3 separate regions of the Homo sapiens genome follow, and regions 1 and 3 are each linked to region 2. The links are contacts of gene promoters, found by promoter capture Hi-C in human tissues and cell types (Jung and others, 2019). All regions are on one chromosome and are shown on one strand. The core of a region is centred on a gene start or on the middle of the fragment in contact, and the rest is flanking DNA. Distances in the headings are between cores, read along the strand shown.

Region 1 (4,449 bases), core at 1,569-4,068, 310 kb before region 2:
TCAGTCGGACACCTCTGGCATTTACCAGCTGGGTGACTTGGGCAGTTACCTCTGCGATCCCCAATCTTCTCATCTGTAACGGGATTGAAACGTTGTTGGGATTTAGATCATGCTGTGGGAGTCATCATAATAATTATTATTGTCATGATCATACAGTCTTCAGACCAAGTCCCCCTCTGTGCCTGCTCGGGCTCACACTCAGCTCTTTCCTCTGACAGCCATAGAGCATGTGCCCTGTTCCACCCAGTCGTGGTTTTATCATGTCTTTCTACCTAGACTCCAGGCTTGTGGGAGGCCAGGCTGTGACATCCATTTCCCCCAGAGCTGCCATTCCTGGCCAGCTGATTGTTCGACAGAGGTTGATAAATATTGGACCAACCTTGGTATGTGCCCAGTGTCTTCTCCTTCATAGCCTCTCTGGTTTGGGAGGGTCCTGGGAAGCCTCTTGTTCCTCTTGCCTTGGGTGGAGCAGAGAGACCCTTGGCTTGAAGCCGGGGGTGGAGCAGGAGTGAGCTGGGTCATCCAGAGACCTGCTTCGTGGCAACCTGAACCATCACCGTTGCAGAGAACAGGTTTGCCAACCTCTCTTCTCCTAGGCTGCCCCTCCTCACCCCACCCCCAACAGCACAGGCAGGAGAACTGAGTTGTTGGAATTCCCCACAGTTTGCATGATCCAAAGCCGAGGCTGCCTTCCTGGCTGGGATTCTGGGGGTGGACATGGGTGAAGGTGAGTGGTGATGCCACCGGGCCATGCTGGCTCCACTTTGGGACAGCTTCAGGGAAGGGGGTATAGGGTCACTGCCTGGGAGTCAGAACACCTGGGTTCAGTTCTCAGCTCTGAGTTTGGGCAAGTAGCTTCCACTCCCTAGGCCTCAGTTTCCTCATCTGAGTCAAAGATGAGATGTTCCTGAAGGACTTTCCACTGCAGATGTCGCTGTCTTCCATGTAGGCCTGGGCCAGACGCTTGGACTGCCACTTTTTTTTCTTTGTTTTTTGTTTGTTTGTTTGTTTTTTGTGGCTTTGGCGGTGCTGGGCAGGTGAGACACAGTTCTTGCTCCTTCTGATGCTCAGATCTGTTTTGGAGGCCCCCGCTCTGAACCCATGCATTCAAGAACCAGCTCCAGGGACACCCAGGGTCCTCCAAGTCCAAATCAGCTCCCTCCCCAGCTCTGTGACCCAGGCTCCATTCAGGGGGTGGCCTGCAGGGGGGCAGTGGGAGAAGGTGGTGGTGCCTTGCTTTCTGTACACTCTGCCACTGCTCCTGAAGTGTTAATCAAATTAAGGCTCCAAGAAAAACAAAAGCTCCGCAGCCACTTCGGGCTGCCTTGGAGTCGTTTGCTCTCGGAACAGCTGGGAGAATTCCACATCACCTCCGTCCCCCAAGCCCTGGGTGGCTCTGACCCCAACGAACACACTCCTTCCAGCCTGGAGGGCTCTGGCTGGCCACAATGACCTCATAGCAACAGCCATTGGACACTCGGGGCAATTTCATGGGAGATATTTGTTCTTTGGTCTTGATGCAGAGAGAATTTTTTCCTCTCTCCCTGTCTCCATGGAAACCCCAGCTACACTGTTGGCGATCCCCCTTCCCACCCCATGCTTTTCAGATCAATATTGGAGCTTGGCTCCCCACTGGCTGCCCACAGCGGATGGTGGCAGAGCTCTGGGCAGGAGGAACTGGGGCCAGGGTTAAGCGCGGGGCATGGGGAACTGTCCCTGAGCGGGGATGAAAGGAGCGCGGGTCCGCTTGCTCCCTGTCCACCCACTCACTGGAGCTCATCCCTTTAGTCTCCCTCCCTGCAGCAAACCTTCCGCCCCTACCCAGGGAGCGCCCTGAGCGCAGATCCAGTCAAGGAGAAACAGACAGGTCACCAGCGGTTACCACCCCTTCCTCCTTAGGCTAGACACGGGGAGCTGGGGGGCCGTTGTCTTCTTTAAGGTCTGGACGGAGTTTCTTCCTGCCCCGGGGAAAAACCAAGGCCCGGCCAGCGCCAGCGCCAGCCCCGGGCCCTGGGAGACCAGGCGTCCTGGTCCCTTCCTTCTGTCTCCGGCTCCCGCCCCCCAAGCAGAAACAGGTCCCTGCACGCCTCCAGCCCAGCCCGCAGCGCGGCGCAGCTCGGCGCAGCTCGGCGCTGGGAGCTCGCTCCGGACTTCTCGGGATTAACCTGCTATTATGTCCCGGAGCCCTTCCCTGCAATGGGCTTCCTCAGCGACCTGTCAGCCCGGCTGGACTGCAACCCGCGTCCGGCGCCCCTCCCGGGCCACCGCCCCGCGCTCGCACCCCTGGCGCCCTCGAGAGCCCCGAGCCGCCTACCGGTGCGGACGCCGCCACAGCCACCCCTGACGCCTCTGGGCAGGGAGCCGGACCCGGGCAGGAGGGGACCCCGGGTGTGCAGAGGGACGTTCGGGCCGTGGCGGCGGCAGCGGAGCGAGCGAGCCTCCGGTCCCGCGGCCGAGACACCTGCCGGGCTGCCCCGCGCCCGCTGCCCCGCGCCGCCTGGCACCGGCCGCTGCCCCCGGGGCCTGCCCCGCCCCGCCCCGCCCCGCTCGGCCCCGGCCAGACTTACAGCCAGTTGCTCGCGGCGGCTGAGAAGACGGCGAAGACGAGGAGGCGCAGCGAACGCAGGCACGAGCGGGGACTCATGGTGCCGCCGCGGGCGCCCGGCCCGGGGCAGCGGCTGCGGCCGCGGGGGGCCTCCCGTCGGGGCTGCAGGTGGGCGCCCGCGGGCGGGCCGGGGCGCGCGCGGCGGGGCTCTGCCTCCGTGTGCCTGCCGGCAGCCTGCCCGCTGCTGCGCCCGCTGCCCGGCGCGGACCAGACTGTCAGCGCCGCCCCAGAGCCGGGATGCGGCGGCGGCGGCGGCGGCGGCGGCGGCGGAGGCGGGCGGGCGGGCGGGCGGCCGGGGGGGCGGGCCGGGGGCGGGCCGAGGATGGGGTTACCTGGGCGGGCCCAGCGGCCCGGGACACCCCCCCGGGGGCGGGCCGGAGCGGCGGCGGCTGCCGCCTTAGCCCGCGGGACTGGGCTGCTCCCGGGGCCTCCCCGGCTGGGCGCTCCGGAGGACTTGGGGCCCGAGCCCGCTCCAGGCACGCCTGGCTGCGCGCCGCCGAGCCCGGCCCGGCTAGAGGCGCGGCGACCCAGCTGCCCGGCCGCCGCCCGGGCCTAGGGGACAGGCGGGCACAGCTCCCCCAACCCGCCGCTGCGGGCACTGCAGCGCGGCCCTCGCTGTCCCCCTACCCCCCCCACCGCCCCCCGCCGGCGCCTGGAGCCCAGACCCCGGTCCGACCGCGGCGGACCCACCGGAGCGCGGCTACCACTCGCGCGCACCCAGGCGCTGGCGCTCCGGGTGCCTGGGGCTGCACATCGGGGCGCTGGATGTCTCCCGACCGCCCCCCGCCCGGCCCCTCCCTGCCTCCTGGCCCCCGCGTCCTGCGGCCCAGCCCCTCCCTGGCGCTCACCTCCCTACAGCCTTCCGGGAGCTGGACGGGGCCTCCCCAGCTTTGGGCAGCTTGGGACAGTGGCCCGAGACTGTGGGAATCCGAAACCTCGCTTCTGGCTAGCCACAAGGTCTGGGCGCGCCCCAGGCAGCAGGGTCTTGACTCTGAGCCTCCGTTTTCTCATCCGGGAAGTGGGCTTAAGACGCTGTGATTGGGAGGACAGGAGGAGTTTAGGGAAGCTCTCTTGGCTCACTCACCAAGTCTTACTTTGCATTTGGTTTTCTATGTGCTTGTTCGATTTATCCTCCCATACTAGGCAGATTCAGCCTCTTGTTTGTTTTGGGCACAGGGCGGTGCCTGCCATGTTTGTGGAAGGAATAAATGAATGGAATGGAATGGGCTGCAACAGCCTGTGCTTGGCTAGTCCAGAGAGCTCAATTCCACATCACTGTAACCCCTAAGAATTGTCTGCCCAAGTCCACGCCACACCCTCTCAGGTCACTGATCTGATTCTGTGTGCTACTCATCCTCCAGGCTGCATCCCCCAGCTGCTCACAGGTAGAGGGACCTCTTATCTAAACAGTAAAACTAAGGCCCGGAAAGGGAGGCACCTGTCCCACCTCCCTAGGGGTTGGGAACAGAGGCAAGGACCAGGTCTATGCCCTCACCCCCTGATCTTAGTTCTTCACTGATTTTGGAGTATGAAGTTTGCTCCCACAGAGGCCATCATGTTTGGGTGCTGGGATGGTGCCCTGGGGTCCCCTGGGCTCAGAACAGAGGAAGGGCTCAGTAAACATTTGGTATTGGGACTGGGTGGAACGTGGCAGGGATTTGTGGGGCTGGGCAAGAGTATAGATGGAGGTTCACATACCATATGTCCAAATATTTGCAGGCTATAAATCAAGCTAACAAAATGCAAAATAAATTATGTTCTATTCTTCTATCTTGACAAATACACTTTCCTAACAAGGCAGAAAGCTGGCTTTGAGTGTGGCATTCTCATACTCCTCAGACCTT
Region 2 (4,277 bases), core at 1,111-3,610:
GAACTGTAGGCAAGTCAGCCCCATGAGAACTTCTGTTAATGCAAAACCTTAAGTAAATGGTGATGGGGAAACTGCAGCCACTGATCCACTGACTGTGGATACATGTGTGGGGTGTGTTGGGAGATGTCTAAAACAATCCCCCCAGGGAAAGATTCCTTTCCATATTTCCTAAATATTTTATAATAAGCATGTATTCATTTAAAAAAAGTTATAGAAAGCCTCTTCTTTGTCACTGCTGTCCCAATAACTGAGTACACTTGGTGGCCACTTTTCTTTTGCTCTCTTCGTTTAGTCCCTATAGGATTTGAAGTCTTGTTAAGTGGAACAGGAGGGACAGATGGTGCCTGAAAACTTATTCCTATTGAGACTCCTGAGCTTCAAGCCATCTGCATTCACATACAGCACATTGGCAATGATACTGTTTTTTAAAATCCATTAATTCGATAAATATTTCTCTTTTTTTTTTTTTTGAGACGGAGTCTCGCTCTCGTTGCCCAGGCTGGAGTGCAGTGGCGTGATCTCAGCTCACTCCAACCTCCGCCTCCCAGGTTCAAGCGATTCTCCTGCCTCAGCATCCTGAGTAACTGGGATTACAGGCACCTGCCACCATGCCCAGGTAATTTTTCTATTTTTAGTAGAGACGGGGGTTTCACCATGTTGGCCAGGCTGGTCTCGAACTCCTGACCTCAGGTGATCCGCCTGCCTCGGCCTCCCAAAATGCTCCCAAAATGCCCAGTGGCTCACACCTGTAATCCCATTAACTCGATAAATATTTCTAGAGCACCTACTATGTGCCAAGCACCCTTCTAGGTGTTTGTTTGCTAAATCTAGCAACCCTATGTTCCCACTAAAAGAGAATGTGAGGCTGGTGGAAATGAGGGCTTAGGAGACACAACAGCTGTAGGCGTGGTTCCAGTTACTACAAAAGTGACTAAATAACAGCTACAGTAAATCCGACCCTGAATGTAACGGTGACATGAGTATAATAGTGAAAGTGACTAACTGGGCACAAGGGTATGAGGACAACAGTGTACCCTGAAGGGGCCTGTTAAATACTGGCTTGACTGTGTGGCAGCAAAAGTGGCTGCATGACAATGACAGTGAAAACAACAGAAAGGGCAACAGCTGGGCAAACAAAGTGCTATTTTGAACAGAACCGTTTGAAGTTTATGGTCAATGACGGTAGCTGCATGTCAGACAGTGACAGTAAATATGATCGACCGGGAGACAGCAACAATGCAAGTGACAGTTCTGCCCAGTAGATTGAATTTGTGATGTAAAACGGTGATGGGGTGAGTCAGTCAGCCAGAGACAGCTCTCAGAACGACTGAATATTGACATTGCAGATGGAAAAGGTATAACCACAGAGGAAGCTGGACATTGCACTAAGATGGCTGGATTTGGGCACGTAACTGTCAGGGACAGAAAAAGTGGCTGCATGTCAGTGACAGGGTGACTGTGTTCAGTGGGCCAGCGCGGAGGTGACTCAGTTTGTTACTGCTGGATCTGATTTAAATGTTTGTGTAAGGAAGGGTGGCAAGGGGACGCTTCAACAGGGAACGCATAGTGTGTGAGAAGGAAAATGAGCAAAAGAAAAGCTAGGACTAAATCCCAAAGCCCCTAAATCCCAAAATTGGGAGGTGCGAGAGGCAGGATCAGGATGCCTCCAGGATGCCTTCAGCCCACTGCGCCCCACCAGCGCCAAGCCTGTCCCACAAAGAGTGCGGGCTGGGGACGCGGCTCAGGTCGCCTCTCCGCCTCGCACGTGAATGTGTTGTTTTGGAAAAACGAAGCCTTTTGTGTTCACTTCCTTGCCCTCCTTTGAAACAAAATCCTAATCCTAGAGCTGCCGGAGCGAGACTGCGGAGCTCCATTAGAACTTTCCTTAGGGCCGGGCATGGTGGGAGGCCGAGGCAGGTGGATCATCTGGGCTCAGGAGTTCGGGACCAGCCTGGCCAACATGGTGACATCCTGTCTCTACTAAAAATAGAAGAGAAAAAAAAAATTAGCAGGGCGTGGTGGCGCGCGCCTGTAATCCCAGCTACTCGGGAGGCTGAGGCAGGAGAATCGCTTGAACCTGGAAGGCGGAGGCTGCAGTGGGGCGAGATCGCGCCGCTACACTCCAGCCTGGGAAACAAGAGCGAATCTCCCATCTCAAAAAAAAAAAAAAGAAAAAAACTTTACTTAGGAAGTGTGGGGAGGGAAGGAGGGAGTGGCCAAGGTCAGAGGTCAGAGAAGAGCCTAGCAACCAGCCGGCCCCCGCCGTCCTAGCATAGGTGGAGAGCGAGCGCGTGACGCAGGCCCCGCCCCCAGCACGTGACCGCGGCGCGTGGGGCAGGTCGGGCCGCCCCCTCCCCTCTGATACCCATTGCGCGCCGGCCTCAAGATGGCCGCCTTCTGGCGTCTCCGGCGCTGTTGAATGGCGAAAGCTTTATTGTTCCCTTCGGGCAGGAGTGTTCGTGTCCTCTATGGCGCTGTCAATAAAGAACGGCAGTTTGAATCGGTGCTGAACAGGTAACCATAGAAACGGGGCTGGGACTCCGCGTGGAGACCCTTCCTGCAGCGGGGGCCCGGGTGCGCCCTAAATGAGGGGTGTATACAGACCCTTCCGCGTGGCGAACTCCGCGGGACTCGGCCGAATCACGGCCGCCTCACCTACACCCCGGACGTGCCCCCTCCAGGGGCGGTCCGCACCCCTGGCGCCGGCTCTGCTGTAGACTGCGGAGGGGAGAGACCGCGGGGACCCACTCAGGGCGCCAGGCCCGACCTGACACCGCCTGGGGCTCGCTGTCGCCCCGCACCTCCCTCTCGGCCCGTCCGGAGGCCTCTTGTCGCTGTCTCACTCCCCCTCCCTTCAGGTCCCTTCGCCGGGCGTCAGCGGACTATGGCCTTGGGCCTAATCCATGCCCCCCTTCTCTCTTCCCCTCTCGGTCTTTGTTTACAGTTGCAAATGGTTAGGGGGAAGAATATTTCATGTAATTTGCGAAAGTTCTATGAAATCAAGTCCATAAATGAAGTTTTATTGGAACACGGCCCTGTTCATTGTTGATGTATTGTCTATGGCTGCTTTCCTGCCAAGAGGGCAGAGCTGAGTAGTTGCGCAGCCGTTGCTTGGCTTTGATCGGCTGGCTCACAAAGCCAGAAATATTTCTGTCTGGTCCCTTACAGCAAAAGTTTACTGACCCCTGCCCTAAACACAAGGAGATTGGATCAGTGTTGTCATTCAGCTATTCCTCTCGTCGGTTCTTCTGGAGTGGGAAAAGAGTTAAAACTGCGCGATGCACCGAGAGCACTTTAGTTGACAGAACACTCTGGCTTCCCTTCTGGTCTTACTGACTATTCAGAGTTTCTCCTGCTTTGAATAGCGTTGGTACCATGCAGCCAGTGCTGCAATGAACCAGGTGCTTTATTTATATTCATACAAGTGTTGTTCTACTTTATGACGACGCTTTATAAGTAAGTATGGTATTTCCATTTTACAAACGAGGAAGAAATTTGTTCTGAGTGGTTAATATATGTATAGGTGTACTAGGTTATAGGGCTGCCAAATTGAGCCTGTCCCTGGGAGCCCCCTGCCTGATGGCACCGGTCAAACTGCTTTGGATTTTATTCTTTCAAGTCTTTTCTACCTGGAATTGTTTGTTCTTCCCTGGAATTGTACCCAGATCTTTGTATGGTTAATGGAGATTTAATTACAATCTCAGTGAAATTTTTTTCTACTTAGCTAAATCATCAAACTTCTGCCCCTCCTTTCTAATATAAACACTTTTCTTCTATGTCAGTAGTCCCCAAACTTAGCTATTCATTAGTGGTTTAACAAATGGTTTCAGAACACCCCATGCATGTACGCATGCATTCATTAATCATTTAGTGTTTGTTGAGCACTTACTGTGTACCAGAGACGTTTCAAATTCCTGGAAATACAGTGGTGAACAAGACAAATATGATTTCTGCCCTTCCATGGAATTTAAATTCTATGTGGGGCTTGGACAAGTGGTATACAGGTAGACAAAGATAATTTCAAATACAGCTGTAATAGCATCATCATAATAAAATTATTAGTTGCTATTTACTGAGTGATTATTTTGTGCCAGGTACTGTGCTAAGTGCTTTATTTATATGGACTATCACTTAATCCTCACACCAATACTATGACATAAGTAGTATTAATATTACCATTTTACGCATAGAGGAAACAAACTCACGTCGGAGAGATGTTCGAGGTTACATAGCTAAGGCATTCAGCTGAGAGCTGAAGCTAATCTGATCACACTGAA
Region 3 (4,748 bases), core at 599-3,098, 350 kb before region 2:
CCCCATAAATAAATTGGTGCATTAAGGAAGGAATATTAATCACATCCAGGAGGGCTCTGCCCTAACTGCTGAGAATCATAAAAGAAATGGGGACATATTCTGGCGAAATAACAGCTTTGTTAATTGAGCTCTTACTGTGTGCCTTTGCACTGTGTTAAGCACATGGTGTTATCACACTTGCTACTCACAACAGCTCTGAGGTTGATAGTACAGGTATCTTCTTTTTATGGAGCAGGACTCTGAGACATCATAATTGCTTGGTATATGCAGCCAGAGTTGGAAATCCTATCTGTCTGATTTTGGAAACTGTGTGCTTACCATTACATATCTTATGTGGAAATAAAATGTATATGATTAATTACAAAGCTGAAAATCGTAGTTGAAGCATCATATAGTGCACAGGGCAAGCAAAGCAGCATAAAAGGCTTCATCTGTAAGGGTAGGTTTGTTGGGTAGGAGCTTTTTGGGGGAGGTGACTTTAGGATCAGTTGTAGCATGAGAGAATATGACACCTTCTTCCTTTAGAGGATCTAAAGGTGTAGCTTTAGAGGATTGTAGGGTGCCTTTGCCCATTGTGTCATTTGGTCCTTCTTAAAATTTGAGTGTTTATTCTCTACATGGCACTCTTTTAAGCCTTTGTGTGAATTAACTCAGTCTTCTCAGCAATCCCCCATTTTTTCATATGTGGAAACTGAGGCATGTTATGATACAAAGCTTGTCCAAGAATTCAGAGCTAGCTTGTCCAAGAATTCAGAGCTAGTAAGTGAGGGAACTGGGATTTGAATTTAAGCAGTCTGTCTCTAGAGTCTGCTCAGCTGGCCTTTTTTTCTTTCTTCTTCTTCTTCTTCTTTTTTTTTTTTTTTGTATAATAGGCCTGTGAGTTGGGAAGAGCAGGGTTTGTTTGGTGAGAAAGTTGCACCTTAGTGAATACCCAAGGTCTGAGGGAGGCTTGGAGCCAGCTCTGCAACCTGGCTCCCTTCTTTCATTAGCTTGACCCAAGCACAGGGAGATGACTGGGGCTCTGCCTTCATCTTCTCTGCAAACGGTCAGGGATACTCATGCAGTTTTTGAGTTTAAGTAGTAAACTCCTAAACTTCAAGTCATGTTTGTATTAGTGATTTCACTTGACCTCAGTACAACTCTGTAAAAGAGGCAGGGATGGATGATGTCATTTGTCAAATGGTAAAACTGAGGCGAAACAACTTGGCATTGTTGGTGTTGTGCGAAGTACATGCATAGGCTTTGGATTTGAGTTTGGCTCTGCCACTAACTTGATCTATGTCTTCAGGCAAGTAACTTAAATGCTCTGAGTGTTGCATTCTCTGTGAAGTGGAAATAGCTGTACTTTGCCCAAGAGTTGTGAGAGTGACATGAATTGCTATATGTGAGGTTCTTAGCATAGTGCCTGGCAAGTAGAAGGTACTCATCTGTGAATGGGGTAGATAGCAGCTGTCTTCATCACTGTCATCATTGTTGGCTCACATCAAATCAGGACCAGAAAACCCTGTTGACTTCTGGGTCTTAAACTGCTGTATCAGTGAGGGGCTTCCTCCTCATACTCATTGCCAGGAGTAGAGTAAGGCTTTTAATTTCATCTCTAACCAACTCTGATAGGGCTGGAAATGTGTATGGAGTTCCAGACCCACCATGGGGCCCCAGTGCTAGCTTCTTAGCCCTCCTTTGTAAGGTTTGCACTAGTTTGATGGGAGAGGGATTTTTTTTGTCTTGATTCTGAAGCTCTTAAAGAAATGCTCCTTTTTCTCCATAACTTGAGGATTTCACAATTGTATTGGAATTATTGGTGTTAAGGAGTTAGGTCCATCTCTTGGCAGCTTGTGAAGGGTGGGCAGGCACCTGTGAATTCTTCACTGGCTTCTTGTAAGAATGACTTTACTGGAGGGTGCTGAGTTTGTGATTATCTCCTCTGCTGCTAGAAAACTCCGTGAACCCTGGTACATATAGCGTGATAAATCAAGTCCTGTTTTTGCTCCTAACTTGCATTATGGTGTTTGATACTATATCTTCATTTCTCCCATGGTAGTAATAACACTGTTGGAAAGAGCTCTCAGTTGGAAGTTGAAGATCCAGGTTCTAGTTGAGGCACCAGAGTTTCCTTGGGCAAGTTGCCATACCTTTTTGGGCCTTGGTTTCCTCATCTCAATAAAATGAGTTTCTGTTCCTTTTTGGTTTGTGTCTTTTTTTCAGTAGGCCTTCTTTTTCATAAACAAAAGCTTATATAGAGCCCCACTGTAGAAACAGAAAAGGTGTATGAAACAGAGTTGCTGTAGTTAATGCAGGCCCAGCAGCTTTACTCTTCCCACTGCCTCCTTGTTGCAAACAGAGATAAACTTTGTGCAGCCCTAGTAACCTCTAAGGTGTTGCCAAGGGATTTGAACACGACTGGTGCAGGTTCATTTCTGTAGCCTCTTAAGTTTCAGGATTTTTTGCTAGCTATTGACAGGTAGTTAACAAAAATCTATAAAACCTGTATACTAAATATACAAGTAGACTAGTGAGTCTTCAAGAATTTTGTGATTATTATCCCTATATGGAGAATCTTTTTAGATTTTTACTGATATAGTTGAGAGATTCTAAGTTTGGTTCAGTCTGTAGTTTTAAAAAAAATGTATAGCAGTAACCAGTAAAGACCGAGTTGGTTTTTGTTTATAGGATAAATACGGCTGCTTTTTTTTTTTGAGACGAAGTTCCGCTCTTGTTGCCCAGGCTGGAGTGCAATGGCGTGATCTTGGCTCACTGCAACTTCCACCTCGAAGGTTCAAGCAGTTCTCCTGCCTCAGCTTCCTGAGTAGCTGGGATTACAGGCATGTGCCACCACGCCCAGCTCATTTTTTGGTATTTTTAGTAGAGACGGGGTTTCTCCATGTTGGTCAGGCTGGTCTCGAACTCCCAACCTCAGGTGATCCTCCCGCCTCGACCTCTCAAAGTGCTGGGATTACAGGCGTGAGCCACTGGGCCTGGCCAAATACGGCTTCTTAACAGCGGCAGACAGGATATTTTCCTACCTTATGGATCACTTCCTTTTGGGAATACTAGTAGGATCCAAGCATAAATATAATTCAGTGGTGAAACTAGATCCCTTTACACAGACTTATCTGTTTCCCTTCTTGTAAGTATCCTGGCATTCTTCATTACAATTTATATAAAATAGCATATTTCCTGTTGTTCATGTTTCAGGAATCATTCTAGTGCCAGTTCTATGTAGAACTTTTTGATTTTAAAGAGAAAAACTGTATTAAATAGTAGGAAAAGCACATATATTTTGGAGTAGAAGGCCCTAACTTTGAATCTGGCTCTGTTAATGACTAGCTGTGTTTGGGCAAACTGCTTTAGTTTTTGAGTCTTGATTTACACATCTGTAAAATCGAGCCAATTCTGCAGAGTTGTCATTAGGATTTAGGGATAAGGTACTCTCCTCCAATAAGCACTCGGACAAGAGGATAGACAAAGCTTTGTCTGATAGGGAATTCTCATAGAAGAACAGCCAATTTTATAATGGTAGTGGGTACAAAATGGTAATTTGTCACTGTGATTTACTTTTGTTTAGGCATTTATTCATTTCAGGAATGCTTATCTATATCTTGTCTGTTTTGTAGGAGCCAGTATAGAGTAGTATTAAAAACATAGACTCTAGAGCCAGACTGCCTGGTTTTGAATCTTGGGTTCACTGTTTACTGGCTGTGTGATCTTGGGCAAGATATTTAACTTGGATGTTTTTCTTTTGAGGATAGTAACAATATCACCTCACGGGGTTTCATGAGGATTAGACAAGTTCATGTGCGTAAAGTGCTTACAACAGTGTTTGGTTATTATTGTTAGCTGTTGTATGATTATCTTGAGGGAAGCTTGCTGCTTAGAGATCTTGAGACTTACAGAGCTAGCCCGAATGGCAAATATGTTTGAATTAAGCATTTCCTGTAGACTGTGTTTAATAGTTCAGATGGGTAGGAATGCAGTTCAAAAAACCTGTCAAGCAATCCCAGTAGTATTTTCTGATGAACCCTCAAGTCCTTCTGGATAAGACCCCAGCTAGTGCTGAAATGTGGTGAGGCCTGTGTTTCCTCCCTGAAAATAATGACCAAGATTTTACATTTGCACAGTGTGTCACGTTCTTTCAGTTTATTCCCACAGTCTGTGAGGTGGATAGGCCAAGGGTGATAATTCATTACATTTTAAAATAAGGGTATGGTCTCTGGGAAGGAAAACAATTTGCTTAGAGTTGTACAGCTGTTTGGTGACTACACTTCAGGCCTCTGTTTTTAGGCCAGTGTTCTTTTATGCCAGCCTGGTCCTGCTCTCTTCTGATAGAGGTTCTAAGGAATTGTTACCTTGTAGTAACCAGTGATCTATGGATCATGACTGTGGGGTTGAGAGTCGTAACCAGTGCCTTTTTAGCTCATAGAACTCTTGGAGGAGCTAATGGTACTTCCCCGTGGGGCCAGTGGTGGGTCTGATGCACCTCTGGGAATAATAGTAATAATAAAAGGAAGAAACAAAGTGTGATTTGCCCGATTGAGGGTGACTAGGAGTGACTTTGGGAACACATCTAATTGTTTGTCAGTAGATTATTTTGCCACATTCAGTCACTGCCTACAGTGATTTACAGCCATTATTTCTTAACATGCTGCATTTTTCTTTGGTATGCCTTAGTGGTATACCTGGTATAGATCTGAAGGTACTGTATAGTTAGTTTGCCTACATAACACTAACAATGCAGTTCATTCCTTTGT

What was found. Contacts are between HindIII fragments. The study calls those that stand out against the background at their distance.
Region 1: a contact is called between the fragment with the promoter of WNT4 here and the fragment with the promoter of ZBTB40 in region 2, in 1 of the 25 tissues and cell types used here (H1 embryonic stem cells).
Region 3: a fragment that was not itself captured here is called in contact with the fragment with the promoter of ZBTB40 in region 2 in 1 of the 25 tissues and cell types used here (heart left ventricle).

The regions. Positions count from the first base shown.
Region 1 is chr1:22,140,279-22,144,727 of GRCh38, forward strand. WNT4 (Wnt family member 4) reads right to left here and starts at 2,819. Exons shown (of 5, transcript NM_030761.5): 1 at 2,568-2,819. The coding sequence starts at 2,644. LOC105376845 (a long non-coding RNA gene) reads left to right here and starts at 675. Exons shown (of 5, transcript XR_947050.1): 1 at 675-727. RefSeq lists silencers at 2,287-2,346, 2,909-3,238. The HindIII fragment of the contact is 15,863 bases long and covers 1-4,449 here.
Region 2 is chr1:22,449,491-22,453,767 of GRCh38, forward strand. ZBTB40 (zinc finger and BTB domain containing 40) reads left to right here and starts at 2,361. Exons shown (of 18, transcript NM_014870.4): 1 at 2,361-2,514. RefSeq lists silencers at 1,606-1,900, 2,215-2,414, 2,755-2,844 and enhancers at 2,290-2,851, 2,565-2,644. The HindIII fragment of the contact is 15,295 bases long and covers 1-4,277 here.
Region 3 is chr1:22,099,182-22,103,929 of GRCh38, forward strand. CDC42 (cell division cycle 42) reads left to right here. Exons shown (of 6, transcript NM_001791.4): 6 at 1-2,179. Among named protein-coding and RNA genes, the nearest start is that of WNT4, 42 kb to the right of the region's middle. The HindIII fragment of the contact is 3,633 bases long and covers 33-3,665 here.